Regions from separate parts of the Homo sapiens genome. Here region 2 is linked to region 1. Evidence: promoter capture Hi-C in human tissues and cell types (Jung and others, 2019). All regions are on one chromosome and are shown on one strand. Each heading gives the region's core, a stretch centred on a gene start or on the middle of the fragment in contact. The rest is flanking DNA. Distances are from core to core; before and after follow the strand shown.

Region 1 (4,651 bases), core at 274-2,773:
GGCTCGTGGCTTGGAGGGACTGGGGCTGGGAGGAGCAGGCCAGGCAGCTGCGGCCACCGCCACCCCCACCCAGGACTGGGCGCTAGGTGCCCTCTCGGAAGCTGTGGATCTGCGTGGAGTACCTCTGCAGGTGGCCCTGGGGCTGGGCCTCCGTGGCCCCCAACGCACCCCCAGCCACCTGCTGCTGCTGCTGGTAGTGCTGGTAGAGCTTGGGGCCCGGCCCCTCCAGGCCTGGGAGGCGGCTGCTGGACATGGTCAGGATGGTGGCCGTCAGCGATTTGATGTAGTTCTTGGCCAGCGTGAGCGTCTCGATCTTGGAGAGCTTCTTGTCCGCGCGCACGTGGGGGATGACTTCACGCAGGGCCTGGAAGGCGTTATTTAGCTTGTGCATCCGCTGCCGCTCCCTCTCGTTGCTCTCCAGCCGCCGCTGGATGCTGCTGTCACGACGGCCACCGGGCCCGGAGGGTCCTGGCCGCCTGCGCCTGCCCTCGCCCGGAGCCCTTGCTGCGGCCCGGGCCGGCCGGCTCCGCAGACCCTTGGCCGGCTCTGGCCCCGGGTTCGGCAGGGACCCGTCGGGCGTCCCCTCCCCGGGGGTGGCCTCTGTGTCCTGCACCGGGGCCCGGCGCCGTGGGGGCCGGTTCTTGGTCTTCATGGCCCTGGACTGGCTGTCCTAGGAGGTGGCGGCAGGAAGGTGAGGCCCTTGGAGCTGAAATCCAGAACACAGGACACTCTGTGGTCACCCCACATGGGCAGGGGACCCGCTGGGGTGCCGTCCCTGGCAGCCTCCTCCTTGCTGACAGCAATGGTACCAGGGGCAGGGGTTGGCGCTCTGCGACTGGAGGTCCTTCTGTTCACACGCTTAGCCCTGGGCTGACCCCACACACACCCACGCCCTTGCTTTACCTCAAACAGACCTCTGGAATCTGTCCCTGTCCCTGCGTCCCCCTTCCCCCAGGATGACTCATCCTGACCCCTAGATCTTCCTCTGGCTCATGCCCCTCACTGCCCCCAGAGTGCCTCCTGAGCTCGGTGACCTTTGACACTTTGCCTAGAATGCGTCCCCCACCCTAGCTTAGGGGGCGCCTCTGCCGGAGGCGGCACTGACTTCATCCCGTGGGCGGGCAGTGACTCCAGCCACCAGGCTCTCACTGTCCTGCCCCGCTGGACGTGACACGTGCAGGGACAGCACTGGGGCCAGAACCGCTGCGGACATGGGACAGCACTGGGGCCAGAACCGCTGCGGACATGGGGCAGCCGTGGAGGTCAGAGGTCGGCAATGGCCAGGGCCTGGCGGCAGCCCCCAATCCCACCACGTGGATGGGCCCCGTGGAGCCTCCAGACAGACCAGAAGTCCCCCACCCGGGTTTCCCCACAGCCCCCACAACCCCCACAACCCCACCGCCAGGTCCTGCCCCTGGGTCCCCTCCCCGCGGCCCCACCCGAGTTCCCAGCTCCCGGGTTACCTGGGGATCCGCGGCCACACGCGCCGAGGCTGCCCACGGGGGACAAGGACACGTCGCTTTAGCCGCCCCGGGAGGGGCCGCGGACGCATGCAAATGAGCCCTCGGGGCGGGGCCGGGGCGGGGCCGGGGTCCGGGTGTCCCGGCGGGCGCTGGGCAGCAGTGGCGGCACCTGCGGGCGGGCGGGCGGGAGGCCGGCGCCTGGGGCTCCCGGACCAGGTGGCCGCGCAGCCCCGCCCCCAGCTTCCGCCCCGCCCCCAAGATAGAAAACCTCCCCCGCCCGCCTCTCCCCATCCTCCCCCTACTGCCCCCCACCCTCGTCCCCCAAGACAGCCACCCCCGCCCGCCTCTCCCCACCATCCCCCGACAGCCCCCGACCCTCGTTCCCCCAGACAGCCTCCCCCACACGCTTCTCCCCATCCTCCCCCGACAGCCCCCCAACCGCCCCGAGATAGCTTCCCCCCATTCGTCTCTCCCCATTCTCCCGCTACAGCCCCCCCAAGACAGCCTGCGTCCCCACCTCCCCTACTCCCGTCCCCCGACAGCCTCCCCACAACCTGCTTTTCCCCATCCTCCCCCTCAATTTCCACTCGCGCCTTTCCCACCCGCCTACCCCATATCCGTGCCCGAGACAGCCTCCCCCCGCCCGCTTTCCCCGACCCTCCCCCTGACACAGCACCCCCGCATCCATGCCTCCCGCGATCCTCCTTGCCCGGCCTCTCCACTCGTGGCGGGGCCCGGGCCCATTCCGCCAATGGGAAACAGGTCTCTGGGAGCCGCCGGAAGGAGGGGCAGCCCCGATTCAGGCTCAGCACACAGATCCCAAGTCCCAGGAGCACTCCGGGACGAGCCGCTCCGCGAAAACGCGGGCATCTCCCAGGGGATCCCCCGCCCCGCCGCCCGGGATGTTTAGGGGAACCTGGGGCTCCTACGGGCTGGGGGCGGAGCCCGAGTTGGGGTGGGGGTGGGGGGCTCCTTGGGCAGGTGTGCAGTCCTTGGGAACGCCTGTTTTGTTTGTTTGTTTGTTTTTGAGACGGAGTTTCGCTCTTGCTGCCCAGGCTGGCGTGCAATGGAGCGAGATGATCTCGGCTCACCGCAACCTCCGCCTCCCGGGTTCAAGCGATTCTCCTGCCTCAGCCTCCCGAGTAGCTGGGATTACAGGCATGCACCACCACGCCCAGCTAATTTTTGTATTTTTAGTAGAGACGGGGTTTCTCCACGTTGGCCAGGCTGGTCTTCAACTCCTGACCTCAAGTGATCCACCCGCCTCGGCATCCCAAAGTGCTGGGATTACATGCGTGAGCCACCACGCCCAGCCAAAGCAGCATCTTGCTCAGGGACTATTCGGGGCTGCTAGGGGTGCGGTGACTGCACGCTGCTGGGGGTGCGGTGAGTGTCACGCTGGCTGGCAGGCCTGGGCTCCACACTCATGGGTCTCGCCGCTCTGTCTCAGTACCTCTGGGTGGGAACTCAGAGGGGCCATAGTGGGGCGGGGGGCGGGCACAGAAAGGCTAGCTTGGAGCCAAGGTTAGTTAGTTCTTCTCTTGGCCTAAAGCTCATTTGAGGCTGGGCCAAATGAGGTCCTTGGAAATGAAAATGCTTCCGAAATTCATGAGTGCAAAGGCATGGTTTATAGACATGCTTCAAGGTGGCAGGAACACTAAACAGGTTTGGTTTTCCAGTGGTTATACAAAGCTTTATGTCCTCAGGAGTGCGGGGAGTTTAGGTCTGTCACACAAGCTCCAGAGGGACCAGGGCAGGGGCCTGGAACACAGGCTGCGGGCGCTCACAGCAGGGCAGGGCCAGGCCACCCACCCAGGTGGCCCTTGCACGGTGGACAAAACACAGAAGAAACGCGGCCAACAGAGTTTATAAATATATAACTATATTTATTTTGAATATTAAATAGTTTTTAAATTACAAGCAATTTATTGAATCACACTATGCATCAATATACAGTAAAAATCTTACAATTTAAAAATGTACACAATTTAAACTGAAAGTTCATTGACTATTATATTGCCATGAACCTCTTCTGCCTGTGTTAAAGCACAGCAGGGAGGCCTGGTGGGTGTGACGGCCCCCTACGTCCTCCTCTGCAGACGGAATCCGACGGTGGATCCATACACCAGCCCCATGATCAAGATCCCGCTCGGCCCACGTAGGCCTGAGTGCTTAACCAGCACGTGTCCACACCGGTCAAACTGATCTTCACAGGCTGTTGGTAATTCAACACTGTCAATGCATCTTTAAGAATTTCTTTATAGATGAAAGAGAATGTTCTTTGTTAATAAAGACTTGAGCCAACCCCATTGCTACTTAGGAATATTGTTTTGGAGATTTCCATCGGAAGTCACTGCGTATACCCATTCTTTTTTTAAGGCTACTTCCCATAAGGCTCATGTTTTGAAGCCACTCTAACAGAAGCCCAACCTCTGGCGTCTAACCCTTGGTTCACTTCTGAATTTTCAGATGATGGGCTGAGTTAAGGAAGAGCAGGCGCTGCCTTCCTTCCACCGGGGCCCTGGGGACAGGCATGCAGTAGGTCCTTAACTCTACAAATACCTTATTTCGGGAAACAGGAATAAAAGGAGGGGTTTGGAAAGGCCTTTTACAGCAGCAAGACAAACCAAGACTTTTCTTAGATAAACCCATTTCTATAGAAACGATCGAACCTGTACATTTAAAAATAGAACGAACGTTGTTTGCAATTCGGCTTGGTCGAGCTTTCTGCACCCTTACGGTGAATGGCTTCTCGTCCACACACACAGGCCAAGTCTCAGAAGGATGTGGGGAGCACTTTTTCTGGGTTGCCCTTTCTGGCTTATTGACAGGGTCATTCAAAAAGACAAATTCGCATCTAGCTAGTAAGGAAATGAAAACTAGATTATTTTTGTTATAGGATTTAAAATGTACAAACTCCACCAAAACAGGACTAATTCAGATTGATTCTGGGTTGCTACCCCATAGAAGGCCAGAAAATATTCTAACCTTCCCCCACATTATCTAGAGAATGCCACTGATTTAGTTCATTGTACAACTTATTAGAACAAGTACATTTTGAAAACCCACCACTGATAACCAACTTATTAGTTAAAAAATAACAAAACAAACAACAAAAACCTGAACTGAACACAGCACATGCTGACATTTCAAAAATGGGCTGCAATTTTTATTCTACTTAAATTTCC
Region 2 (4,376 bases), core at 1,877-4,376, 220 kb after region 1:
AGGTGTGGTGGTGTGCGCCTGTAGTCCCAGCCTCCTGGGAGGCTGAGCTGGGAGGATTGCCTGAACCCAGGAGGTCAAGGCTGCAGTGAGCCGAGATCACACTACTGCACTCCAGCCCGAAGAGCAAAACTCTGTCTCAAAAACAAATAAAAATAAAAATGAAAAACAAACAAACAAAAAACATGACTCCAGCTTTTAAAAAGGAGATCCTAGGCCAGGTGCGGCGGCTCGCACCTGTAATCCCAGCACTTTGGGAGGCCAAGGCAGGTGGATCACTTGAGGTCAGGAGTTTGAGACCAGCCTGGCCAACATGGTGAAACCCCCATCTCTACTAAAAATACAAAAATTAGCCGGGTGTGGTAGCATGTGCCTGTAATCCTAGCTACTCGGGAGGCTAAGGCAGGAGAATTTCTTGAACCCGGGAGGCGGAGGTTGTAGTGAGCTGAGATCATGCCTCTGCACTCCAGCCTGGGTGACAGAGCAAGACTCCGTCTCAAAAAAAAAAAAAAAAAAAAAAGGAGATCCTGACACATGCCACAACACAGATGAACCTTGAGGACATTATACTCAGTGAAATAAGCCAGTCTGAAAAATACAAATACTATATGATTCCACTTATATGATGTCCCTAGATAAAGCAGTCAAACTCTTTTTTTTTTTTGAGGTGGAGTCTCGTTCTGTCACCCAGGTTATAGTGTAGTGGCGCAATCTCAGCTCACTGCAACCTCTGCCTCCCAGATTCAAGTGATTCTCCTGCCACAGCCTCCCAAGTAGCTGGGATTACAGGCTACCATGCCCAGCTAATTTTTGCATTTTTAGTAGAGATGGGGTTTCACCATGTTGGTCAGGCTGGTCTCGAACTCCTGACCTTGTGATTTGCCTGCCTCGGCCTCCCAAAGTGCTGGGATTACAGGCATGAGCCACTGTGCCCGGCCAGTAGTCAAACTCTTAGAAGCAGAAAGTACAATGATGCTTACCAGGAGCTGGGAGGTGGGGGAACAGGGGAGTTGTGGCAGCTCAATGGATACAGAGTTTCTGTTTTTCCAGCTGAATAAATTACAGAGATCTCTCATTCAATAATGCACCAAGAGTTAACAATATTGTACTATACATACACTTAAAAATGGTTGAGATTATATATTTTATGGAATGTGGTTTTTACCCAATAATTAAAAAGAAGAGTCTAGCACAGTGCTGGCCATATAAAGCCTCAATAAATGTTTGCTGAAAATTAAAAAAAAAAAAAAGGCCAGGAGTGGTGGTTCACACATGTAATCCCAGCACTTTGGGAGGCTGAGGTGGGAGAATTACTCGAGCCCAGGAGTTCAAGACCAGCCTAGGCAACATGGCAAAACCCTGTCTCTCCAAAAAATATGTATATTAAAAAAATTAGCCAGGCATGGTGGTGTGTGCCTGTAGTACCAGCTACTCGGGAGACTGAGGTGGGAGGATCGCTTGAGCCTGGAGGTCAAGGCTGCAATGAGCTGAGATTGTACCACTGCACTCCAGTCGGGGCAACAGAGCAAGACCCTGTCACAACAGAAACAAAATCTTGAGGTGTCTAGTCCTGGCCTCAGCCTCAGAGTATTTGTTTCTGAACTTGTTAGTTTTGGGGGTTGGGGATGCTGGTTTGATTTCCTCCTTTTTGCCTTTTGAGTGTGTGCAATTTATGGTATAGCTGGGAAACGTAAAAGTCAAGAGTTTTGTAGGAAAATCACGTCACTTAGCCCTGTCTCCTGTGCCGGACGAGTCCTGTGTGTGCACTTGGTGACAATGGCTTTGAGTCTTCAACTCCAGATTGAGGTCAGCCTTACACATCCATAGTTCCCAAAGCTGAAAACAGGCCTGCCTCCAACGGTACCTGCTAACATCTGGGGAGCTTTTCAGCTTACAGAGCACCCTGTATGTGTTTGTCTTAGTTCAGGCCACCATCTCCAGCTTACCAGGCTCTAGAACCTTCTCCACACTTTGCCAACAGGGTTCGTTTGCAGAATTGAAACCTTAGTTAAGGTTTGTTGAGGTTGTTGTTGTTGTTGTTGTTTTTACAATTGGCTATTCCCACCCACATTCCCTTGAGACATAAATAGAAAAAAAAAAGAGGTTTCCTGAGTAGGACAAGACATTTGAGCTGCATCCACTTGATCCTTGAAAAGGAAATCTAAGAGGTTGTAACTATCACTTTTTCTAGCCTATATAAGGTAGGTCAGTAAGGTAGCAAAAGCACATCTGTTGTTTTGCTCCTTCAACTCTTTTTCCTGATTCTTCCTGGGGGAAAACCTAAAACGGTGAGTAACTGGTGGACCCATCAGACCCCAGACTCTTCTTCACTGCATGCATTCATATTAGGCTCAGGTGCTTAGACTCCTGTTTTCCCATGGCTCTGACATCTGGAAGGATTTTAATCTCTGGGAGATGGGCTTTTCATCCATCTGCTTCCCACCTTTCAGGACAGGTAGCATGTCTTCTTCCACAGAATGTCTGCAAGCAGCCCAAACTGTATCCTTTCCCACGTGGAATTTGCAACAGTGCATCTCTCGGACTGCTGTAGGAAAATGCCAGTGCATTTGTAACATGGTTTACGGCTGCCTATGCAAATGACTGATTATGTCAGTATAATTTTTATAAGAAAACAATTGAATCCTTCTTTGGGTCATGTTTTTTTTTTTCATTTTTGGCATATATTCAAAAGAAGGCTCTGAGACAAAAAGGGCTGGGGTCTTTTTGGTATCTGGTTTTAATTTGGATATTCTGTCCCGTCACTTAATACAAAACCATGCTTATCACATTTTAAAAATTCTAGACAGGCCTGGCTTGGTGGCTTATGCCTGTAATCCCAGCAGTTTGTGAGGCCAAGGCAGGCAGATCACATGAGGTCAGGAGCTCGAGACCAGGCTGGCAAACATGGCAAAACCCCATCTCTACTAAAAACACAAAAATCAGCCAGGCCTGGTAGTGCGCACCTGTAATCCCAGCTACTCGGAAGGCTGAGGCAGGAGAATCACTTGAGCCCAGGAGGTGGAGGTTGCAGTGAGCCAAGATTGTGCCACTGCACTCCAGCCTGGGTGACAGAGTGAGACTCCATCTCAAAAAAAAAAAAAAAAAAAATCTAGACACACATACAGTTTCAGTGGGCCTGGGAAGATGTGTTTCCCCTGGATGTGCACGTTCCTGTTTGTGGCTTATCGCCTCTCGTTTATTCTGTGTGAGTAGGTAGAAAATGAGCATCACGGACGTGCTCAGTGCTGATGACATTGCAGCAGCGCTCCAGGAATGCCAAGGTAGAGGGGACGTGGGGCGGGGGTGGGATTTCCTCACAGCTTTGCCCCTCCAGCGAGGCAACACAAAATCAAAATGTAGGCCAGGCGGCCAGACGCAGTGGCTCACGCCTGTAATCCTAGCACTTTGGGAGGCTGAGGTGGGTGGATCACGAGGTCAGGAGTTTGAGACCAGCCTGGCCAAGATGGTGAAACCCCATCTCTAATAAAAATACAAAAAAATTAGCCAGGCGTGGTGGTGGGCACCTGTAATCCCAGCTACTCGGGAGGCTGAGGCTGAGAATTGCTTGAACCCGGCCTTTTTTGTAGACTCTGTCTACAAAAAAAAAAAAAATGTAGACCAGGCATGGTGGCTCACATCCGTAATCCCAACACTTTTCGGAGGCCAAGGTGAGAGGACTGTTTGAGCCCAGGAGTTTGAGACCAGCCTGGGCAACATAACAAGACTCCATCTCTACAACATAACAATAAAAATAAAAACTAGCGGGGCATGGTGGCATGTGCCTGTGGTCCCAGCTACTCTGGAAACTAAGGTAGGAGGATCACTCAAGCCCAGGAGGTTGAGGCTGTGGTGAGCTATGATCGCTACACTGCACTCCAGCCTGGACGACAGAGTGAGACTCTGTCTCTAAATAAATAAATAAATAAATAAATAAATAAGTAAATAAGAGCTTGGCTGGAAAATTCATGGAATCAGAGAAGAAAACTACTATTTATTAGATAACTAAAATTATAGAGATCTGGGATCTGAGCACACGATTACACTTCTGTAAGACAAAAGAAACCTACTAAACATGAAAGCAAGAAATCACTGAAGGGCCAGGTGTGGTGCTCACACCTGTAATCCCAGCACTTTGGGAGGCCAAGGCCGGTGCATCACTTGAGGTCAGGAGTTCAAGACCAACCTGGCCAGCCTGACAAAACCCTGTCTCTATTAAAAATACAAAAATGAGCTGGGCATGGGGGTGCATGCCTGTAATCCCAGCTACTCGGGAGGCTGAGGCAGGAGAATCAGTTGAACCTGGGAGGCAGAGGTTGCAGTGAGCCGAGATCACGCCACTGCACTCCAGCCTGGCGACAGAGTGAGACTCTGTCTCAAAA

The links. Contacts are between HindIII fragments. The study calls those that stand out against the background at their distance.
Region 2: the fragment with the promoter of OCM2 here is called in contact with the fragment with the promoter of BHLHA15 in region 1 in 1 of the 25 tissues and cell types used here (mesendoderm cells).

The regions. Positions count from the first base shown.
Region 1 is chr7:98,208,311-98,212,961 of GRCh38, reverse strand. BHLHA15 (basic helix-loop-helix family member a15) reads right to left here and starts at 1,523. Exons shown (of 2, transcript NM_177455.4): 1 at 1,464-1,523; 2 at 1-706. The coding sequence starts at 652. The coding sequence ends at 83. LMTK2 (lemur tyrosine kinase 2) reads right to left here. Exons shown (of 14, transcript NM_014916.4): 14 at 3,324-4,651. RefSeq lists a silencer at 1,462-1,651. The HindIII fragment of the contact is 24,836 bases long and covers 1-4,651 here.
Region 2 is chr7:97,988,946-97,993,321 of GRCh38, reverse strand. OCM2 (oncomodulin 2) reads left to right here and starts at 3,126. Exons shown (of 4, transcript NM_006188.4): 1 at 3,126-3,278. The coding sequence starts at 3,218. The HindIII fragment of the contact is 22,202 bases long and covers 1-4,376 here.